Regions from separate parts of the Homo sapiens genome. Here region 2 is linked to region 1. The links are contacts of gene promoters, found by promoter capture Hi-C in blood cells and fetal thymus (Javierre and others, 2016). All regions are on one chromosome and are shown on one strand. The core of a region is centred on a gene start or on the middle of the fragment in contact, and the rest is flanking DNA. Distances in the headings are between cores, read along the strand shown. Region 1 overlaps LOC105375769 (a long non-coding RNA gene). Region 2 holds the start of TMEM71 (transmembrane protein 71).

The links. Contacts are between HindIII fragments. The CHiCAGO score rates a contact against its expected background, and 5 or more counts as called.
Region 2: the fragment with the promoter of TMEM71 here is called in contact with a fragment that was not itself captured in region 1 in 1 of 17 cell types (activated CD4 T cells); the score reaches 6.5 in activated CD4 T cells.

What each region holds. Positions count from the first base shown.
Region 1 is chr8:133,151,445-133,158,202 of GRCh38, reverse strand. LOC105375769 (a long non-coding RNA gene) reads right to left here. Exons shown (of 3, transcript XR_928667.4): 2 at 31-155. Among named protein-coding and RNA genes, the nearest start is that of CCN4, 36 kb to the left of the region's middle. The HindIII fragment of the contact is 2,206 bases long and covers 2,785-4,990 here.
Region 2 is chr8:132,756,944-132,763,701 of GRCh38, reverse strand. It overlaps TMEM71 (transmembrane protein 71), which reads left to right and starts at 3,120. Exons shown (of 10, transcript NM_001382403.1): 1 at 3,120-3,226; 2 at 4,787-4,862; 3 at 6,408-6,468. The coding sequence starts at 4,823. The HindIII fragment of the contact is 4,740 bases long and covers 1-3,338 here.

The DNA.
Region 1 (6,758 bases), core at 2,638-5,137:
ACAGTGTGTACGGCACCCATCCCCACACACCTCAGGCTGCAGCACAGCAGTGAGTGGCAGCCAGGGCTGCTGGGAGGTGTCCATCCCCAGGCTCAAGCTGTGTGTCTTTGTTCTTCACACCAGAGTCTACTGTTGGGTTTCTTCAGAAGCAGCCTCTGCAATAAGAATATGAGTGCAAGGGATTTGTAAGGCAGGTGATCTGAGCAATGCCACTAAGGGAATGGGCAGGTGAGGCAGGGACTTAAAGGAAACCAGTCAGGGAACATTGTCAACTCACAGCAGTGACCATGGGCAACCAGGTCACAATTCCACTGTGGTGTTCTGGGAGAAGGTGGATGGCACACCTCAGAATTGCCTCACTCAAGATGGAGGAAGCTGAAATATGCACCAATCAACTCCCTTTCTGCTGTGGTTGAGGATTGCTTCCTGGAGATTACTGTGGCAAGAGAAACATGAGCTTCCATATTACCTTGTATAATGCACAGGGCAAGAACCCAGCCAGGCCAAGAAACATGCTCTTTACATCCAAAAAAAGGCTTCAATCCTAGCTCTGTTTCTTGCCTATTTGATACCTTGAATAATTTCTTCCCTCTGAGCCTCTAATTCTCTTATCTATAAAATGGGTAGGATACTTTCCCCGACAAGATTGGAATAGGGATTTGATGAAATAATGCAGGTCAATGAACTTGCCCAAGATTGGCTCTCAAAAGAGACTGATATTTTGTCTCACCACCTACATTGCTTTCATTGTTTGCTGGTTTCCCTTTATCTTTCGAACCTCTGTTAGGATGCCCAGGGCTCAGTCTTCAGGCCTCTACTCTTGTCTAGGACACATGCCCTTGGCGATCTCATCCAACTTCAAAGCCTTAAATGTCTAGCGTAACCCTCAGCACTCCCATGCTCATGTGCCTCCTTTGCCGTCTTCAAAATAGAACTGGAATGTGACCACAGCTCACGTTCCCTGTCATTGCCCTGGTCCAAACCCTCGTCTTTTGCTTGGATGCTTGCATTAGCTTCCTGACTCTCCATCCTTGCTCCCTGTACAGCTTTTTCTCTACACAAATACCAGAAGCATCCTGTTAAAATCCAAGCTGGATGACGCCACTCTATTTAGTCTGCTAATACCTTCTCATTACTCCTAAAGAAAAAGCCCAAGTCTTTACATAGGTTTACAATGTGACTGGACCCAAATCTCAAATCTCCTCTCCTCCATGTTTTCTTCTGCTCACTCTGTCTCAGCTATTCTCACCTCCTTCTGTTCCTCACACAGTCTAAGCACCCTCTTGCTTCAGGGGCTTTGCACATGCTGTTCCCTCTGCCTGAGTGTTCTTCCCCCAGACATCAACCTGTCTCGCTCCTTCACCTCCTTCAAGACTTAGCTCAAATATTACCTTCTCAATGAGGTCTGCCTTATGCATTCTATTTCAAATTGCATGGCCGTCCCATCACACCTCCCTGTTTTGTTATTCTCCATAGCACTGACAGACATCTACTGTATTGTAACATTTCTGCTTTTTCTTATTCATTGTCTATTTTCAGCTCACCTAACCCCCAGTAGAATATAACTCTATGGGTGCATTGTTTTTTGCCTGTTCTGATCATGGATGTATTCTAGAATAATTCCTGGTAATAGCAAGTACTCAACCATTTGTAGAATGAATGAATAAACAGATTAATTAAATAATTAATTAATTAATGGTGTGGTGATTAAGATCTTGATTTTGGGAATCTTATGTATCAATTCAATTCTTATTTCCACAACTTTCTGTCTGTTACCTTGTACACATTACTCATCTAAGTCTTACTTTCCTGTTCTATGAAATGGGGGAGAGGATAGTACCTAACACTTAAGGCTCTTGTGAAGACAGGTGAGATAAGATATATTAGACATTCAGACAATGACTGGCACATGATATGTGCTCAAAAAAAGACAGATTTTCTTTTTTCTTTTTCTTTCTTTCTTTTTTTTTGAAATGGAGTTTTGCTCTTGTTGCCCAGGCTGGAATGCAATGGTGCCATCTCGGCTCGCCACAACCTCTGCCTCCCAGGTTTAAGCAATTCTCCTGTCTCACCCACCCGAGTAGCTGGGATTACAGGCATGCACCACCACACCCAGCTAATTTTGTATTTTTAGTAGAGATGGGGTTTCACCATGTTGGTCAGGCTAGTCATGAACTCCCGACCTCAGGTGATCCACCTGCCTTGCCCTCCCAAAGTGCTGGGATTACAGGCGTGAGCCATAGTGCCCGGCCAGATTTTCTTTTTTAAGTTTCTCTTTCAATTTCATCGTCAATGGCTTCACAGATATTTTAGTGAAAAACTGAAACAGCTCATGATATACAGCAAATATAATAACCCCCCAAAAAAGGAATGAAAGTATATATAAATAATTAGTGTTATCTTTAAATTTATACACATCCACACATAGAGACAAAAGGCCAGAAGGATATACATCAAAATATTTAAAATGGTTATTTTTGGAATTTTTGTTGGGTTTACTGGTGACTTTCAATTTTTTAGTTATAATTTTTTTTTACATTTTAAATGTGTGACTTTTTAAAATAAAAAAGCAATGAACATTTTTTAAGAAAAAAATAACAAACTTCAGTAAAATGTGGCTTTAACACTGATACACTTATCCCCGTTAAGAATGTTTATTGATTACATTTTAACTTTCATGAGTCAGAGAATTCACACTCTGACAAACCTGATCTGTCCTCTCCAAAGCCCATATTCTTATTCTGTATAGGTTAAGTAGCAGTTTCCGTATGTCAAGCCAAAGCTTTCTTTCCCAGCCACTTCCTTTAAGTCACCCAAAATAACATTGGAAATTAAAATGTATAGCAGCAAAAAATAGTATGCAGCATACAAATAAGTCACTTATAAATTATCTTGTAATAGCCAAAAAACAGTGGTTTGGATTCAGGCAAGGGGCTATAGGTCTTTCTCTCACCACCTTGAGCAGCCTGTGCAAAGCTGTTATTTCCTGGCCACCCAACAAGCAAGGACCAAATCCTGGAAGAGAACATTAACATCAGGTCATGACATTGGCAAACAGAATTCAGATGTCACTCAGTGAGAGAGAAGTCCCTTGACCGTCTATCCCAAAGAGACTGCACATGTATACGCAGTGACTCCATTTGTCAAGAAATGACTAAATTATGTTTTCTGTTATCTGGCAAGATGAGGGCCCAAAGTAGACTTTAAGTTGGACTTTTGTTTGTCTGTTTCTGTGACTGTGAAATTTGTAATCCACTGCATTGATAATCAGAAGTTCCCTCTGGTAATGAGCTTCCCATTTGAAACCTTCCCTTCCCTTCCCTCCCCTCCCCTCCCCTCCCCTTCCCTCCCCTGCCCTCCCCTCCCCTCCCTTCCCTTCCCTTCCATTCCCTTCCCTCTTTCTTTTCTTTTCTTTTTTTTGGACAGAGTCATGCTCTGTTGGCCAGGCTGGAGTGCCATGGTGTGATCTCAGCTCACTGCAACCTCCGCCTCCCAGGTTCAAGCAATTCTCCTGCCTCAGCCTCCCGAGTAGCTGGGATTACAGGTGCCCACCATTACGCCCAGCTAATATTTTGTATTTCTAGTAGAGACGGGGTTTCACCATGTTGGCCAGGCTAGTCTTGAACTCCCAGCCATGGGTGATCTGCCTACCTTGGCCTCTTAAAGTGCTGGGATTATAGGCATGAGCCACAGTGCCTGGCCCCATTTGAGATTTTTCAATGAGGCTAACTCAACCAGTAAGCAGTAACATCTATTTTCCATGGCCCAGCCTTTGCTTCATGGGCCATGTGGAGCTCTACTTTGGATTGCCCAAGACCATAAGGTCCCTAGAACCTGGCAGCAAATGGACTTAATGCAGAAATCAAGGGCAGATACAGAAGGGAGGGACAGAGTAGTGGAAGAACAGAGGCACTAGGAGAGGGGATTTAGGGAGATAGGAGGCTATGTGAAGTTGTCCTTTGACTCTGCTCATGGTCTATTGAGTGCTAAGAAGAGGTGGCTACAGGCATAGATAGAACATTCAGTTTGTCCAGAGGAATTGCTGGCCTGGCAAGGGGGCCTCCAGGGTGTCTTATAGCAGCAAGGTTCTAAATGCATGAGTGAGTGTGCATGTGTGTAGGGGGAGTGTATGGAGGTGGGTGGGAGGGATACCCCCCCCAGGGGAGCATATAAACCATTGGCAGTGGAAGGGCACCAGCCAGTCAGCAGATAACCTATGGGTGTGCTTGCAGGCTATAAATAACCAGTAGAGGTGTGTCGATGCATTCCAGCTGAATATCAGCACTGCTTCTCTTGTCATTAGCAGGACGTACACACTGTGGTAGTGCAGGGCAGCATAGCTCAGGACAATAACCTGCATATAGGCTACAGCTCCAAGCACAGTAGGTAGCACCATCCTGGGAGTAAAGTGGGACCTTTTGAGGCAGGCATTTTCAAGCCACTTCATGATGCATCAAGATGGCTGGGTCTGAATATAAAATGACTGCCCGTATTGCTGCCTAATGTACTCAACAAATATTCATGAGTCTTACCTGTGAGCCCGACCTAGCCATACTCTCACCTCAGGGTTAGGGGAAAGGATTAGGAACAGAGAAATCATCTTGGACAGATGAGGTGTCTGGGGTGCATATTCTATGGAACTAAGAAGCAGACGCTGTAATGGTTTCTCTGTTGGAGATGGTCTCAGTGGTCCCCTTTCCCGGAGATGATGTTGCTTCTACTTGGCTCTGGGGTGATGGGTCTCCACAGCGGTTGTAAGTAGGAGAGACAGAAAGGGAAGACAGAGCAAATACAGCCACAAGGACACTAATGGAACCTTGAAGGCACTCTCCAGGACCTCTTGGGGAGAGTACAGAGGTTTTAATGGGTAGATCTTTGGATACAGAGTCTGAAGAAATGGCAGTGTGAGCTTTGTTCCAGGGAAGAGGGCCAGGCAGGAGGGAAAAAGTAGATGGATGTGATAAAGGGTCTACATGGTTTCTCCCAAGCTTTTGGAAAGGAATACGGGGCCTCAGAGGCACAGTCTGAAGGCAGGGTGAGCAGATTCAATTGTGAGACACATTGTAGTAAGTGGTGGGCCCACACGCTTTCGGAATGAGTCAGGGACTGCCTGCTTACAGTGGTTATTTTCCACCCCAGCCCATATGGGCTGATTCTGAGCTTCAGAGGAAACCACTTGGCAAGAGGCAGCCTGAGAAATCTCAAATCCTATACAAATTTCTTCCTCTTCTGCACGCTACCTGACCTCCAGCCCTAGCACATGTAAGCACACATGTGCACGGCACACACACATCCCTCCCGGAACAGCACAAGGGAGTACATCCACATGCAATCACACACACATGTGACCTTCAACTCCAACACATGTATACCCGCTCCCCTGACACACATGCAGAAATAGAGCATCGACTCACTCACCCCCTCATTCACACTGCGCTGGAGTGAAAGGAAGAAGTCACAGAGCACATGCCCCAGGGAAGCTCCACTGGATACGGGACCCTCTGTTATCATTAGTAGAGTTGGGAGAGGTAGGGAGTGAATCTGCTGAAGTGCACACTAAGGAACTACTAGAATTTTAAAGCCTCAGAAATGTTGTTTTGGTGGGGCTAAAGATGGAAAACAGGGGTGGATGTCTCTTTGATGTAGAAAAATGCCATGTGAGCTATTTGGATTAAGAAAAGCAAACTTTTCTCCCTACCCTTCTCAGAGTGTGAACATAAGCTATTTCTAGATGAAGACAACTTTCCTGATAACATAATCGTAATTTCAGACTTTTTTCTGATGGGAAGGAAAATGGGTGGATGGCTCTTTGGTGTAGAAAAATGCCATGCGAGTCTCTTGGGTTAAGAAAAGCAAAACTTTTCTCCCTTCCCTCCTCAGGGCATGAACATAGGCTAGTCATAGATGAAGACAACTTTCCTGATAACATAATCATAATTTCAGATTTTTTTCTGGTGGGAAGAGGGAGGGAGAGGCCACAATCTGGAAAGAGAAGAGGAAGAGAATATAGGAACATTTCTTAGTAGGAAAGTTCCACAGGCTAGTGGGAGGCTGGGCTTGGGGAGAAGGATGGACACTGTAGTTGTCCAGTGGTATGATGGCCAAGAGCTCAGAATGATCTTGTGTTACTTATCCAGTGTTTCCCTGATCTTTTGTGGGTCATATTTATGACTCGGCCTTTAGGAAGACTCCTACTACTAAAGCAACTGGGTTTGGGAAAAGGAGGGTGAGAATCGAAGCCATGGATGGGGGAGGCATTTCAGGGAGAAGGCAGCAGAGGCAGGAGGCAGACACTGAGTGAGGAGGACTGGAATTTAGAGGGTCACACGCTGGAGGTGGGCACAGGAGGATGGCCTGTCTGGGCATCACCATTGGCCAGGCATCAGTGTTGGAAACGAATTCCAGTGTTGGCATGGTGTTGGTTTTCTTGCTAAAAGGAAACTTCCAAGGCCAGGTTGGCAAGAGGAGAGGACACAGGAAACTCACCCTTCCATCACCTCTGAGAGGCAGAGTGACTTCCCAGGGAAGGGGCACAGCCTCACTATGAGAAAGCAGCCTTCTCAGTGGAGAGGTTAATTGCCAGGCACCTCAGTGCATTTGGGTGTCAGTTGTTTATAGCTGTTGTGTGGGAAACCGGCTGCTCCATGCTTGGATATCTTGAGCACCATGAAAAGTTGCAGTCCCTGCCACCGGGGATGAAAGATCCAGTCTAGCGGGAAGCTCAGCCCAAGTGGAGCCCCTCTAGCTGGGAGGAGAGG
Region 2 (6,758 bases), core at 1,871-4,370, 390 kb after region 1:
GGAGATATTATGTGACCAAAAGATTCTCAAGGCAAATAATTTTGACAGATGGTGAGACCATGTTTCCTGTGTATAGTAGCAAGTCCGAGTATCATTTAAAAGATTCTATAGTGACCTCTATTAGAGACCTATGCTTTCTAGAACTTTTTGTACTGAAATTTGCCACTCGTCTTTTCCCCATCCACACGCATCACCTCCATTAACAGTGGAGGACTGAATATTCTGTGGAACATGCTTTTAGAAACATTGATTTATAACATGCAGAATAAAGGTTCTGAAGGCAAGTCTACCTGGATGTAATTAATTTATTTGTTAATTCCACAAACATTAATTGATAACCTACTATATGGGAAGCACTACTCTTGATACTTGGGCTATTAAAATGAAGCAAAATGACAATATTCTCTGCTCTTTTAATGCTCATGTTCTGGCTGAGGAGTACGTTTCTTATTACAAGGAATGAATTGTGTGACATATTCCTTGGTAAAAAGTGCTAAGGAGAAGAATAAAGCAGGAAGAGACTAGGGAGTGGTGTGGAGGGCAATTAATTAGTAGCAAGGCAGTGGAGAAAAGAGCTGAGGGAGGGGAGGAAGAAAGCCCTGTGACCCTTAGGGTGAGGGAACACTAACCTCAAAGATCTTGAAGTAGACCCGTGTCTAGTGTATGAGAAACAAGAAGAAGATGAGTGGGTCTCAAGAGAGAAGATTGAGAGGGGAACCATAGGTTTGGAATTTAGTTCTGGCCATTGGCAATTTTGAAAGATTTATGCAAACTCTATAAACCTCTGTCCTGCATGTGGATAACAATTGCACTTATTTTCTAGGGCTACGTGAGGTTGAAACAAGATTACATATGTACAGTGTTTAGTGCAGTGCCTGGTTTGTAGAAAATGCTGACACACGTTGGATATGATCATTACACTTATAGGTTAAGAAAGCAAACTCGAGAGCCATCTCATCAGGGTTTGAATCCTAGCTCTACTTACTCATCACGTACTGGCTATGTGAATTTGGGCAACTCTCTAAACTCAGTTTGCTCTTCTGTAAAATGAGAATAATAATACAGCATCTCCCATGGAATTGATGTAACAATTAATGTGTTGATATGTGGAAAGACCTTAGAACAGTGCCTGGTACATAGTAAGCACTCCTTAAAGTTAGCAATTATTATGATCATTAATAATAAGGTTCTAATATGTGCCAGATCTTTAAAAAAAAAAAAAGTAGACCAAAGTCTTTCTGATGTGAGCTCTTCGGAAAAGTGGATTTGTGGGCACAGGAAGAGCAGAGGGTCTCGAATAAGTCAGAAAGATTTTCCTCCCTCATCTAGAAGAGATAAGCCAAGGCTGGAAGAGGGAGGATGAGGGATAAGAAAAACAGGAAAAGGAGAAGAAGAGAACTGTGAATTCCAGTAAAGAGAATACCAGACAGCTGTGAAGCAGAATAGCTGTCTGTTAAATTTAGGCAGATGTGACCAGGAGTAGCCTTGAGTAAATGTGACTATATTCTACAGGAGTCACTAAAGCAGCAGAGAGTCAGCAATGACAGATGGCTCAGGAAGTGACCTGTGTTAGGACTATGCATCTGCTATGTGTTGCTGTGTAACAAATTACCTCAAAACGTGGTGGCTTGAAATACCATTTGTCACTTCCCAGTTTGCGTGGGCCAGGGAGCTGGGCAGGGCTAGCCTGGGTTGTCTGCTTCTGGGTCTTTCCCAGTTCCAATCGAGCATTAGATGGGGCTGCAGTCAGCTCAAGGCTCAACTGGAGAAGGATCCACTTCCAAGCTCACACACTTGGTTTTTGGCTGGATTCCTGGCTGTTGGATGGAGCATCAGACCCTTACTGGCTTTTGAGACCACTCTTGATTCCTTGACACATGGGCTTCTCCACCATGGCAGCTTGCTTCATCAAAGCAGGCAAGCAAGAAAGTAATAGAGTCCAACAAGATGGAAGCCTCATCATGGTAGTGGAAACTCAGCACCTTTGCCTTACTTTATTTACAAGGAGCATGTCAGCAGCCTCAGTCTACACTCAAGGGATGGAGAATAGACATGAAGTTCCAGAGACAGAGAACTTTGAAATTAGATGGGCCCTCCTCCTGACAGTTCCTGCTGCCTAGAACATGTTCTACAGAAGATCCTGCCATGTGGCAGAACCTCAGGGGGAAAGGGAACCCCAGGAAAGGATGAGATTAACTTTTCCGCCAGCCGGACCAACTGGTGCCTCAGAAGAGAACTTGATTTAAGAAAACAAATAAAGAATACACCTTGCACATCTGTGCTGAGGACTCGATTATTTCTCATTTCTTTTATTTCATTTAATTCTTCAAGCCATCATATGACATATATATTTTTATGTTTATAATTGAGAAAACTGCAACTCAGAGGGGTAAGTCACAAATCTGAGGTCACACAGCTAGGATGGTAGACAGGTTGAATTTCTGTCTTGTGACCCCAGAATCCGCACTCTTTCCACTATGCAGTGGTACCTCAATGTTGCTGGAATATATATTTGAATGTACATTTCTTTTATCACTTACAGTAGTACAGATGTGTATGAACCCATAAACACCATCAAGTCTTTGAGCTCTACTATAATGTAAATGTAAAATGCCATCTATAGAGTTTTTTGTGAAGTCCAACCTTCATTAGATAAACCTATTGCCTCTATAGAAATTTTCATAAGATCAAGCTCTTGCTATTTAATAGTATTCTGAATTTAATAGCATCAGTGCATTATCCTCAATAAATTTAAGTGATTTGGACAAAGATCACTACTCTGCACTACTTATAACTGAATGTGGCCATATGATGAGCAAGAAATGTCAGTTCGCTGAGTCTTTCTCACGTTCTCGCAGCCAAAGGTGACAAGTTAGCTCAGAAAACCACCCCTCCAGTGACCAGGGTGTAACCAGCTGGCCTGACACATGGGCTGCACATTCCCTGCTGCTGGCCCAGGAAACTCTCTGAAATCTTCAGCACACTCCTCAGTGTGAATGCCACTGATGTGAGCCCAACAGGAAGTGTGACCTCATTCTGCTTCTTTGCCTCTGGTTACGCAGGCTGTTTTCAAAAGAAAACAAGAGAAGTTGTAAGACTGACTTTCCCAAGAACTATACACTCATTTATACCAGGAAACAGACAAGAGAACAAGAGGCTGCCGAAGACAAAACTTCTCTGCAAGCACCTGTGCACAGCAATGTGCGTGGGCATCTGTGAGAAGAAGGTAGGGTGGGATTCCCTTTATTAAGAGACTTCTGCACCTGTTGACATTCAGACATTTTTCAGCCGAGGAACTGCTCAGTCCTCAATTTTTCCACTGTCAACCACAGGAAGCTTCGTATTTCAGTAATAATTTTGTCCTTTGTCAATTGGAAGAAGAGGCTGGGAACTCCCTTTGGAAGGAACACGTATGCACACATTATTTTTCAGAATAGATGTGTCGCTTTGATGGAACTGGCAGATTCTGTTTCTTGAAAAGTTTTAGATCTGTAACTGAAGGGCTTTTTTTTTTCCTACTGTTACTAATTTTCTATTGAATGTCAGTGTACTGCCTGTAGATTCTTCTAAGCACTTGTGAGATAGAGCAATAAGACCTTCTTTTGCTGCAGGATTTATAGGCTTAAAATTAAGCTTAATACTTGGGGAACACTAAAATAAGGTAATTTGGGCTGGGCATACCCGTACAATATTGATCAAAAATGAAAAGAACAAGTAACATACTAATATATTACATTACACTGGGATTATTTTATATCCCAAACAAATGAAATTTGTAAATGTGTGCTTTGATTTAGAAATCTTCCAAGGAAGGCCAGAAAGTTCTCCTGACATCTTTACAGGTCTCTATAAACCAGGTTTATATTTTCCTAATAGGGTTTATATATAATTTATTGAAATATTCAACTTGAAGCTGTAGAATTAGCCTGGTTTGATTGATTGAATTACAGCTACAAAAACAATCCATTACTAGTTCTCATGTTACAAAATGTGGCCATAAGTGGTGAATCAGAAAATAATTTACTCCTACCTTATAAAGCGATTAGGATAGTGATACTATATACAAAGTTTCATAGTCAACAGAAGTTGGTTCTATTTGATGAACAGTAAATGATCAAAGTTTGCATAATTTACATACTTTGATATGTTTTTAATTAGTAATTGAGAAATTAAATCATGTCTTCATGGGAACTAAGTTCTAAAATCTTCCCAATGGTATGCTATCTTTAGTGCAACATTACTTATGCTGTTTAGGAATGTCCAGGCTGATAAAAACTATTAAAATCACTCTCTGTGACTACCTGTCAATGGTTCAAGTTGTTGGGAAAAAGACAGACACCAATCTCCAAGCACTGTTTGAAACTTGATAATGAAGTTGACTTGTGTCAGATGATTAAAATACACGTAAGTTTGTTTTGGGGCTAAATGACTGTTAGAACCAGTCATTTTATTAAGATTTCTTAATCAAATACCTCACTTTCATTATTTTCTTTGGATTACAAATCAACCTTTTTAAGTCTAGATTTTCCAAATAAAGTGTGGTTCTTATTTACAGAAAAATGTTATTGAGATGCACTGAGTGAGGCAATGGAAAATGTTCAGTCATAGAGGCAGACACAACTTTAGAGGGGTTGTGTCTTCAGTCTGGTCTCCTACCTTCAATTCTGTATCTCTGTATTATTTCAGTAAACAAATCTGACTAGTGCAATTAGTAGATGCCATCTGTTTTGGCATAATTTTTCTATTTTTAATATATAGTCCACCTTTTTTTTAACATCTTTTGCAGAGAATCTGTGAAGTTTGAGCAAGCGGCCTTCCCAAGATGTACCGAATATCTCAACTGATGTCAACACCAGTAGCAAGTAAATGTAGAAGAACTGTGATACGCAATTATCTTTTGAACGATTAGACTCCTTTTAGCAATTTCCTTGCTTTGATTTTGCTGATACTCAGACCATTAACCATCTGTCAGTAGCTTGTGCTTCTTAAATGCCAGTGTTCACTTTGGCAATGATTTTAACTTCATTTTTTTCCTTGAAAGAAATGTGGTATTTTTCCTTCTAGTAGAAAAAAAAAAATCACCGTTTTTTTTTAGATGCCTGTGCATAAATGTGAAAGGAGATTGTTTATCAGCTACTATTAAGATGCAAAACTGTTTGTATATAAAAAATGCTGAATGATTTTGATAGCTACTTGCAGAAAATAAGAGCGCTGTTAAAACGGTAGTGGTTTCAAGTTTCTTCCTTCCTCTTGTTATTTTCTCCCAAAACCCCACTTCTAACTCTCCCTCACACACCCACAGTTTTCTCCCTACAAATCAACCAGCCCAATCTGAAAGTCTAAATTCCTTTCTTTGTCCTAGATACTAATTGTCCATAATGGAATCAAATTTCACTAGCTTGTCTGTTAGGACTATTGACACCATCTCTGCACACGATAAAATTCTGCTTTAGAGTTTAGAATATTAATCAACTCCAACTTTCTCCAAGTAAAGTCTGTTGCCACGCCTTTGGTTAAAATGGAACGAATGAATGGATGATGTTTCTATAATTAAGAATACTCACAGTCTTTATACTTTGGAAAAATGTTATATAAAACAAAACAAAACTTTATTTCTTCCCCACTAATGTCTTTTGCTCATTATTTTACAGTAGAAGTGTCTTAATATGCACTAATGAGGGAGAGTCTAGAACAATGATTGAATTCCTCAGATTACTGAGTAAGCTGCAATAACCAACACATTGGGTAATTGATTTGGGTTTTCTCCTGCTTCACACAAGACGTTTTTTCCCATCCTTACATGAGCTCAGTTTGATGCTAATGATTTATTATTGCCTCATTCTGCACTAAGAAATTTTTTTTTTTTTTTTTTTTTTGAGACAGAATCTTGCTCTGTCGCCCAGGCTGGAGTGCAGTGGAGCGATCTCAGCTCACTGCAAGCTCTGCCTCCCAGGTTCACGCCATTCTCCTGCCTCAGCCTCCCCAGTAGCTGGGACTGCAGGCGCCCACCACCACGCCCTGCTAATTTTTTGTATATTTTAGTAAAGACGGGGTGTCACCGTGTTAGCCAGGATGGTTTAGATCTCCTGACCTTGTGATCCGCCCGCCTCGGTCTCCCAAATTCTGAGATTACAGGAGTGAGACACTGCGCCCGGAACTTCTAGAGTGTTATGTGGATGAAGGAACAGAAGATAGAAGCCTCTAGTTTATGTCTTGCTTCCGGTAGATCCCTGGTGATAAGGGTACCTGCACTACTGGAGTCTTCCTGCTGAAGCTGGAACATCAGCTATTCCCATCTTCTTACATGCCTCCACTGTTTGCAATTATACATATTGATACATGTATCAACATATGTAACTGTTGATCAGGTATGATACATTCTACTTCTCTCTCATTTGTTTATGCAGGTTCTTCCAGGTTGGAAAGAGAATATGCTGGAGAGCTGTCTCCCACGTGCATTTTCCCAAGGTATACTATGGGGCTTCTTTTAAAAAAATAATCATTCTGGCCGGGCGTGGTGGCTCATGCCTGTAATCCCAGCACTTTGGGAGGCCGAGGCAGGCGGATCACGAGGTCAGGAGATGGAGACCATCCTGGCTAACACGGTGAAACCCCGTCTCCACTAAAAATACAAAAAAAAAAAAAAAATCAGCGCTGCGTGGTGGCGGGCCCCTGCAGTCCCAGCTACTTGAGAGCCTGAGGCGGGAGAATGACGTGAATCCAGGAGGCGGAGCTTGCGGTGAGCCGAGATCCCACCA